2 separate regions of the Homo sapiens genome follow, and region 1 is linked to region 2. Evidence: promoter capture Hi-C in human tissues and cell types (Jung and others, 2019). All regions are on one chromosome and are shown on one strand. Each heading gives the region's core, a stretch centred on a gene start or on the middle of the fragment in contact. The rest is flanking DNA. Distances are from core to core; before and after follow the strand shown. Region 1 holds the start of ERVH48-1 (endogenous retrovirus group 48 member 1, envelope). Region 2 holds the start of CBS (cystathionine beta-synthase).

Region 1 (4,364 bases), core at 717-3,216, 150 kb before region 2:
CGGCTCAGGAAGGGATGGAGGCGGTCCTTGCAGGGGCCGCTCACAGTCCGACTTCCAGTGGGGTCCTCTGCAGAGGGGGCACGGCCTGGGGGGCTTACCTGGGTTTGGGCATTGCCTGGACCGGTGGCCTTCATTGCCACACTTGAAACAGACGCCAGGTGCAGGTGGCTTGCTAGGAGGCTCCCGTGTGGAGCTGCGGCCCCGTGGGCCTGCAGGGCCTCCCGATGGCGGAGGCAAGCATTCGAAACTCTGCCTGTTTTTGCCTTTCACTTTCTTCATCACAATTATTAAAGGCTTTGAGGGCTAAATTGAGAAGGTCTCGTTGTGGGGTTTGAGGGCCATCGTCAAGCTTCTGAAGCTTGAGCTGGATATCAGGGATGGGTTGGGAGATGAACCGAAGGCTTAAGATAGTGGTTCCTTCTGGGCTGGCTGGGTCTAGGTTGGTATATTTTCTCATGGCTTCCATTAAACAAGAGAGGAAAAAGGGCTGGGTTTTCGTCAGGACCTTGGGTGATTTCTAAAAGTTTTTCATAGTTTACCGCTTTATGGGCACACTTTTTGAGTCCTGCAAGGAGACACACAATCATGTGGTCTCGATGGCAGCATCCAAAGGCCCCATCTTGATAATCCCAGTGGGGGTCCTGGCTGGGGACTGCCTCTGTGCCAGCAGGCTGGGCGGCAGCTTGGTGATGAATTGTATCAGCATGTGCCTGAGCTAGGGTCCAGATACGGTCCCAGTCTTCTGGGGTGAGCGTGGAAGAGAGGATAACGTAGAGGTCATGCCAAGTTAGTTCATAAGACTGGGTGAGGTACTGAAACTCTCTAATATAAGAGGCAGGGTATTCTGGAAATAAACCGAGTCTTTTGTGAATTCAAGAGCGATCAGTGAGGGAGAAGGGAACATGAACTCTAATAAGATCTTCAGTTCCTGCTACTTCCCGAAGGGGGCATTCTAGCACAGACGCTGAAGTAAGGGTGGGGCATGGGCCAAAAGCAATGCCTGAATGAGTATAGGCGGGAAAGAAAGAAAAGCCGGAAGTGGTTCCTGCTGAGGGTTTGAAGGGGGAAGGAGGGTTGAGTTAATAGGCAGCAGAGGATAGATAGGAGCGGAAGGTGGCGGGGTGGGTTTACAGGCCTCAGGAGAGAGCGGTGGGGGAGGAGAATGGGTACAGGCAGTGCAAGAATTGTCCTGAGGAGAGGATGGTGTAGGAAAAGAAGTGGATACTCTTGGAGGCAGTGCTGGCTGGGAAGACAAAGAGGAGGCTTAGGGGGTTAAAGAAGACGGTTGAGAGGAAGAGGCAGGGGCTGGAAGGGGTGGACAGCAGTTGGCTGGATCCAACAAGGAAAAAGAGTTAGGGTCGGGAGGAGAACGGCGATCAGGGCGGCGAGAATGGAGGGGGAGGATTTGAACAGGTGAGCAAGAGCAGAGGCCAGGTTGTAATCTGAGTGTGAACAAGGCCTGGATATAAGGAATTTCTCCCCATTTTTCCAGCCGTCAGCAATAATTGCTTAAGTCAGTTAAAATTGTAAAGTCGTATGTTCCATTTGTGGCCCATTTGGACCCACTGTCCAATTTGTACTGTGGCCAGACTGAATTGCAAAAAAAGAACAAGGTGCTTAGAGGGATATCTCGCCTGAGGTCTAAGGTTTGCAGGTTTTTCATGAGGCAGCCTAGAGGGCTGTCCTTTGGAATGGAAGACTGGGAATTTTCCATAATGGAGGGTAGGCTCAGGAGAACGGGAAAAGCAGACCGTCCTGGACAGCCGGAGGGAGACGATAAAAGGAGCGTTTGTCACCGCTGCCTTTTTCATTCCCAGAATGGGATCAACTGGCTTAGAGTCCCCCTAAGACCAGATGATCAGCGAGTGCCTGGCACACACCTTAGCATTTTTTTTTTTTTTTGAGACAGAGTCTTGCTCTGTTACCCAGGCTAGAGTGCAGTGGCGCGATCTCTGCTCACTGCAACCTCCACCTCCCGGGTTCAAGCGATCCTCCTGCCTCAGCCTCCCGAGTAGCTGGGATTACAGGGGCCTGCCACTGTGCCCAGCTAATTTTTGTATTTTTAGTAGAGACGGAGTTTCACCATGTTGACCAGGCTGGTCTCGAACTCCTGATCTCGTGAATCCAACGGCCTTGGCCTCCCAAAGTGCTGGGATTACGGGCGTGAACCACCACGCCCGGCCATGCCATAGCCTTCTTGGACCCATGTTGGATTTTGGGGCTGGAGAAACCAAGAGAGGCCGTGCGGATTTTTCCCTGTTAACCGGGCTCCCAGGAAACTTACCAGTAGGCGAGATCAGTGACCGATGTGCATGCACAGAGAGGCGACTAGAGGCTGAGGAGCTTCCTTTGTCCGGCTGCTGTGGCCTGCTTTCCCAGATGGAGGGGTGGTAGGTCCACTGGGGACGTGGACGGAAGCCCCTCGCAGGTTTCAGGGCCAGCCCCAAGGCTCTTGCATTGGTTGGAACCCGGAGAGCGCGCCAACAGACAACACGAGGCGGTGTGGAGCAACACACTGTTTTAATAAGCACCTGGATGCAGACAGACTGAGGCCTAGAATGGCATCAGCCCCAAGTGAGGAGGGGGCAGGGCTTTTATAGTTCTCTGTAAACAGGAATTGTCCCAGCCTGACGTGACTGCTATGTAGTACGCGGACGGCCTCCCCCTTGATCTTCAGAGAGTATGTGTCTTCCAGCCAGCTCTTTTCCTGCCTCTGCTATCTTGCTGCTGGTGCAAGTTTGAGCGTTGGGACTGGGCCTGAGGAGGAGGAGTTACTCATTCCCTCAAGCTTTCAGGCCCCTGGGAGAATCTTTCAATCAGGACTTCCTGAGGCGGTGTCACAGGTCCCTGCCCAACCTTGGCAAAATAAACTTTCTAAATTAACAAGAGACCTGTCTCAGCCGGGCACGGTGGCTCACACCTGTAATCCCAGCACTTTGGGAGGCCCAGGCGGGCAGATCACGAGGTCAGGAGATCGAGACCGTCCTGGCTAACACGGTGAAACCCCGTCTCTACTAAAAATACAAAAAATTAGCCGGGCATGGTTGCAGGCGCCTGTAGTCCCAGCTACTTGGGAGGCTGAGCCAGGAGAATGGCCTGAACCCGGGAGGCAGAGCTTGCAGTGAGCGGAGATCGCGCCACCGCACTCCAGCCTGGACGACAGAGCGAGCCTCCATCTCAAAAAAAAAAACCTGTCTCAGATTTTCCACATCCGCACCCAAAATGGCATCAAACTCCTGGCCTCAAGTAACCCATCTGCCTCGGCCTCCCAAAGCGCTGGGATTACAGGCGTGAGCCATTGTGCCTGGCCTCAAGTGGGATTTTTTTTTTTAATTCTGAGACAGAGTCTAACTCTATTGCCCAGGCTGGACTGCAGTGGTGCCATCTTGGCTCAGTGCAACCTCCATCTCCCGGGTTCAAGCGATTGTCCTGCCTCAGCCTCCTGAGTACCTGGGATTACATGTGCACGCCATCACGCCCAGCTAATTTTTTTTTTTTTTTTTTTTTTTTTTTTTTTGGTAGAGATGGGGTTTAGCCATGTTGGCCAGGCTGGTCTCAAACTCCTGACCTCAAATGACCTCAAATGACCTCAAATGATCTGGCCTGCCTTGGCCTCCCAAAGAGCTGAAATTATAGGCATGAGCCATCCGCACCTGCCCACAAGTGGGTTTTTTGTTTTTTGTTTCTTGGTTTTTTTTTTTTTTTTTTTTTTTGAGACGGAGTCTCGCTCTGTCGCCCAGGCTGGAGTGCAGTGGCGCGATCTCGGCTCACTGCAAGCTCCGCCTCCCGGGTTCCCGCCATTCTCCTGCCTCAGCCTCCCGAGTAGCTGGGACTACAGGCACCCGCCACCACGCCCGGCTAATTTTTTTGTATTTTTAGTAGAGACGGGGTTTCACTGTGTTAGCCAGGAGGGTCTCAATTTCCTGACCTCGTGATCCGCCCGCCTCTCCTGCCGAAGTGCTGGGATTACAGGCGTGAGTCACCGCGCCCGGCCAACAAGTGGATTTTTAAAGGAAAAAAGAGGCAGTTGCTAAATTCCTCGCCAACAATTTACATTAAAATACATAAGCGATTTATTGGCTTGTTCTTTGTATCACAAATTCCACAAATTTAGAAACGTGATTGTAATGAGTGAAGCAGGTATTCAGGGACTACATGGCTAAACAATTGCGCTGGGCATGGGTGGAGGGCACGAGTGAAGTCCCGAGCTCAGGTCTCTCTGTGCAAGCCTAGCAGAGCACAGAACGCTCTGGGCTATCTTTTCACCTAGGGAATACTGTGGGCGGGACAAATCTGGGGTTATAGACAAGCTGGGGACGGCTGTGCCTCGCTGGGGGACTGACACAGGCAGCCAGTGTGTGAGC
Region 2 (4,577 bases), core at 834-3,333:
AAATAAAAATAAAAGAAAATAAATAAAGTAACAAATATACGACATCAGTTTAAGATCTTAATAACAGGGGAAACTGGGGGAACTCTATCTATTTTTTCAATTTTTCTAAATCTAAAACTGCTCTTTTTTAAATTTTCGAGACGGAGTCTCCCTCTTGTTGCCCAGGCTGGAGCAGTGGTGCGATCTCGGCTCACTGCAACCTCCACCTCCCGGGTTCAAGCAGTTCTCCTGTCTCAGCCTCCTGAGTAGGATTACAGACGCCCGCCACCACATCCGGCTAATTTTTGTATTTTTAGTAGAGACGAAGTTTCACCATGTTGGCCAGGCTGGTCTCGAACTCCTGACCTCAGGTGATTCGCCCGCCTAGCCTCTCAAAGTGCTGGGATTATAGGAGTGAGCCACCCCGCCCGGCCTAAAACTGCTTTTTTTTTAAAAAGCCTATTAAAAAAGAAAAAGTTGCGGAAGCCGGCTGCCTTTGGAAGCCCTTGGAGTATGCTGTTCAGGTGGTCTCTGCGCACAGGCCCTACCCAGGCCTCAGCTTGGCCTCCTGGACTTCCCAGCCTCCCCTCCACCTTTGCAATTCACCAGACTGGGGGCCAAAGCGGCTTCAAACGACCCTGGAGGGTGGTGCTTTCAAGGTCTTGGGACCACGGACTTGTCTGAAAATCCGAAGGCGTTGGATCTTCTCTTCCCCAGAAAAATGCACCCGCTTTCAGAGGTTCGTGTCCCACGCTTTTCTTTCTATCCCAACCTTGTAAGAAGCCGCCGCCGTGAGCGGAGCAGCACCTTCCTCCGCGGGTCGCGGGAGTCACCTACGGGAAGGGACTCTCCGTCTGGCACAGGCCCTGTCTGGCCTGGGGCGCGCATGCTCCGCCGCCGAATCTTCCAGAAAGCCGTGGACCCGAGGCCCCGGCAGACGCAGGCGGCCCAGCGCCTTGCTTTTGGCCCCTCGCCTCGCCCTGGAGCCCTCTCTCGCAAGGTAAGGGACTGCCGGGAACGCAGATCGCAAGCCGTCGGGGCTCTGTAGAACTCAGAGGCGCTCGGCGGAAAGCTCGCCAGGCGACCCAGACCCGAACCCGCGGGCTCCCCAAGACAACAGCGCCGGGCGGCCGGATGCACGTGCGTCCCGGGAAGGCGGGTTCAGCTGGCATCGCCTGGCCGGTTCCGTTCGCTCCTTAAACCACAAGACCCCCTTGGGGTCACGACGTTCCCGGGGCACCCCTGCACTCGCGCGCCAGCACTCCCGGAGGGGCCTGGGGAAGGCCACGCGCACGGAGAGCGGGAAACTCCTCTAGGTTTCCAGGTGGGAGATCCAGACCCTACTGAGACCCGGAAACCGCCGGCCACTCCGCCTCCGGAAGCGACACTTTGGGACAAAGCTGGGGACAAGTAAGCCCAGAAGATCCTCGGGAAGCCGAGAATTTCGCGCTCCGCTCTCCCACCCACGCTCCGCCTCCCGCTTGCATCCTACAGCTCAGCTGCGGTCTCGCCTGGGGCTCAGGGAAGTGAGGTCCCAGGAAAACCTCCATCCCCCGAACGCAACCTGGGCAGAGCCCCGCGTCCCTCCCCCAGCGGGCACCCACCTCGCGTGCCGCCCGCGCAACGACAGCGTTTACCGCCACCCCACACGGTCCGCCAAAAAGGGCGATTTGCAAACAGCCATTTCCCATCCACAATGCAGCGAACTCAATGCTGGGCACCGAAACGTGCATCTCCCCCGGATTCCCACCCCGCGTCCCTGCTCCACGCTCCAGGACTCGCCGCCAGTGGGGTCCACTCCGCCGGCGCGGGGGCTGGGGTGGGAGCCCGGGGCCACGTGCACGGCCAGCCCCCATCTTCTGGGCGGTCAAGACCGCAGGCGTGGGCGCCGGTGGGGCGGGGGTCTTGGGAGACCCTGTCTCGCCGCCTTTCGGTGCAGATGATGCAACTCTGGGCGGAGGCGCGGAGAGGGAAACCGGGACCCAGTTGAGATCCTCTGTCCAGAGAGGGGAGCGAGTCTCGGTGGGGCCGGATCTCACCTGGACGGATACATGGAAAAGAGGGGCGAGCGGCTGCCCCGACTGCGGCGAGGCGGAGACGGCGACCCCGGGGTGGCGGCCTCGCGGGGACCCACGGCGAGGGGAGCAGGCGGGCGGTGATTGGCGGAGAGGCGGGGGCGGAGGCCGGCGCCGGCCAATGTCTCGTGGCAGAGCACCCGCCCCCCCAGCCCCTCCTCCACCCCACCCAGCCCGGGCCCCTCCCCCCCACCCCTTCCCCACCCCGCCGCAGCCTGGGACCCTCCGGCCTGCCCGACCCCCGCCCTCCCCGGGACCCCGGCATGCCCCCACCCCAGTCCGCCCGCCCCATTCCCACGCCCTGTTGATTCAACCGCAGACCCGGGTCGCCGCCCCCTCCCCCGCCTTCCTCTTCGCCTGAGCCCGCCCGCCCCGGGTTCCAGCCACCCCCACCCGCGGACCCCGGTGGTGTCTTCTACCTGGTGTTCCGATGCTGTTTTACTTGGTTAACTTCTTGCCCTTCGGGAATTTAAGGAACCTTTACTGATGAGCTTGAAACGTGCGTCCTGGTGGGTGGGGGGCCCTGCGCGTCCTCGAGGACCGACCCCGAGGGCGTGTGTCGCGGGCCCGGGAGGGGGCGCCGCGCCGGGGCGGGACTCGATGGCCGCGCTCTGTGGCCGCCGGACGCCGTGCGCAGCGCCCCGCGTGACCGCGCCCAGAGCCGGGTCCGAACCCCGAGCCGAGGCGCAGAACAGTCGCCTTGCGCGGCTCCGGTGCGGCCCACGGCCAGGGGCTGCCGGGCGCTCTCGGGGACGGGGCCGACTCCGCGCAGGGTGGTAGCAGGGGCGCCCCGCGGGGCTCCTTCGCCAGGTCCCGGAGGCCGCGGGCGGGGCCGTTTCCCAAACATCGTGCTCTGGACTTTCAGAGGCTGAACCTGATCCCCCCGCCCTATGGCTAAATGGGGGATCCCAGGCCCCCGAGTCTCCCCCCGGACCTGCAGCGAAAGACACGGACGGTGCCCATCAGCTCTGGGCAGAGGAACGTGCTGCGCCTCCGCAGCGTCCCCGGCTCAGGTCAGAGCGATGCTCCGCAGCCTCCTCCGGCCCGCGCAGCTCCGCCGCGGTCTCTGCCACGTGGGGCTCACAGTAGGGGAGGGAGTGAGACGTGAATTAGAATTAAATGTCCACTGGCAGGAACTGACACGAAGAACAATAAAGCCGGCGATGTGGGGAGGGGACAGGGATGGAGTTACATCATGAAGGCTCTGGAAGGTGGCATTGGAGGCCGGGATCGCGCCACTGTCCTCCAGCCTGTGCGACTGAGCGAGACTGTCTCCAGAAAAAAAAAAAAAAAAAAAAAAAAAAAAAAAAATCCTGTCCAGTCTTTATAAGAAGAGAGACGTGGACACAGACACGCGGAGAGAAAAAGGCCATGTGGAGATGGCGGCAGAGATGAGATGTGCTGCCACCAGACGAGAAATGGCAGGGATGGCTGGCGGCCTCCACAGGGCTGGGAAAGGTGGCCAGGGCCTCCCTCAGAGCCTTCAGCCAGCCTGCGGGAGAGAAAGATGATAAACGGTGTTGTTTTTGTTGTTGTTGTTTGAGACAGAGTCTGTGTCACACAGGCTGGAGTGCAATGGTGAGATCTTGGCTCACTGCAGCCTCAGCCTCCCGGGTTCAAGCGATTCTCCTGCCTCAGCCACCCGAGTAGCTGGGATTACAGGCACGCACCACCATGCCAGGCTAATTTTTGTATTTTTAGTAGAGACGGGGTTTCATCATGTTGACCAAGCTGGTCTCGAACCCCTAACATCAGGTGATCCATCCGCCTCGGCCTCCCAAAAGTGCTAGGCTCACAGGAGTGAGCCACCGCGCCCAGCCCAATGTGTGTTGTTTTAAACCACTCAAGTTTGCAGTAATTTGTTACACAGCCCAAATACTTTTTAATTTTTTAGAAATTTTAACGTAATTTTAGATTAGAAAAGTGGCAAGAACCATACAGAATGTCATATTCCCTCATCCAGATTTTCCAAATATTAATTTTTTTTGCTTCTATTATCAGAAACTCATTGTTATTTCAAATGTTAAGTTTTTACTACATTTGCTCCCTCTCTGTCTCTCCACACACACACACACACACACACACACACACACACGTGTGCAGGTGTGTATGAATCTGTCACTCAGTCTATCTGGTTTCTCTAACTTGTTATTTTGTTTTGTTTTGTTTCTTTTTGAGACAGAATCTTTCTCTGTCACCCACGCTGGAGTGCAGTGGTGTGATTTCAGCTCACTGCAACCTCCCCCCCACGCTGGAGTGCAGTGGTGTGATTTCGGCTCACTGCAACCTCCCTCTCCCGGGTTCAAGCGATTCTTCTGCCTCAGCCTCCCAAGTAGCTGGGATTACGGGTGCCTGCCACCACACCTGGCTATTTTTTGTATTTTTTTTTAAGTAGAGACGGGGTTTCACCATGTTGGACAGGCTGGTCTCGAACTCGTGGCCTCAGGTGATCCACCTGCCTCGGCCTCCCAAAGTGCTGGGATTACAGGGGTAAGCCACTGCAGCCAGCCCACTCTCTAGTTT

What was found. Contacts are between HindIII fragments. The study calls those that stand out against the background at their distance.
Region 1: a contact is called between a fragment that was not itself captured here and the fragment with the promoter of CBS in region 2, in 9 of the 25 tissues and cell types used here (H1 embryonic stem cells, IMR-90 fibroblasts, aorta and 6 more).

What each region holds. Positions count from the first base shown.
Region 1 is chr21:42,923,062-42,927,425 of GRCh38, forward strand. It overlaps ERVH48-1 (endogenous retrovirus group 48 member 1, envelope), which reads right to left and starts at 2,569. Exons shown (of 2, transcript NM_001308491.2): 1 at 2,285-2,569. RefSeq lists enhancers at 2,704-3,225, 3,226-3,747. The HindIII fragment of the contact is 3,226 bases long and covers 354-3,579 here.
Region 2 is chr21:43,073,752-43,078,328 of GRCh38, forward strand. CBS (cystathionine beta-synthase) reads right to left here and starts at 2,084. Exons shown (of 17, transcript NM_000071.3): 1 at 2,019-2,084. The HindIII fragment of the contact is 35,360 bases long and covers 1-4,577 here.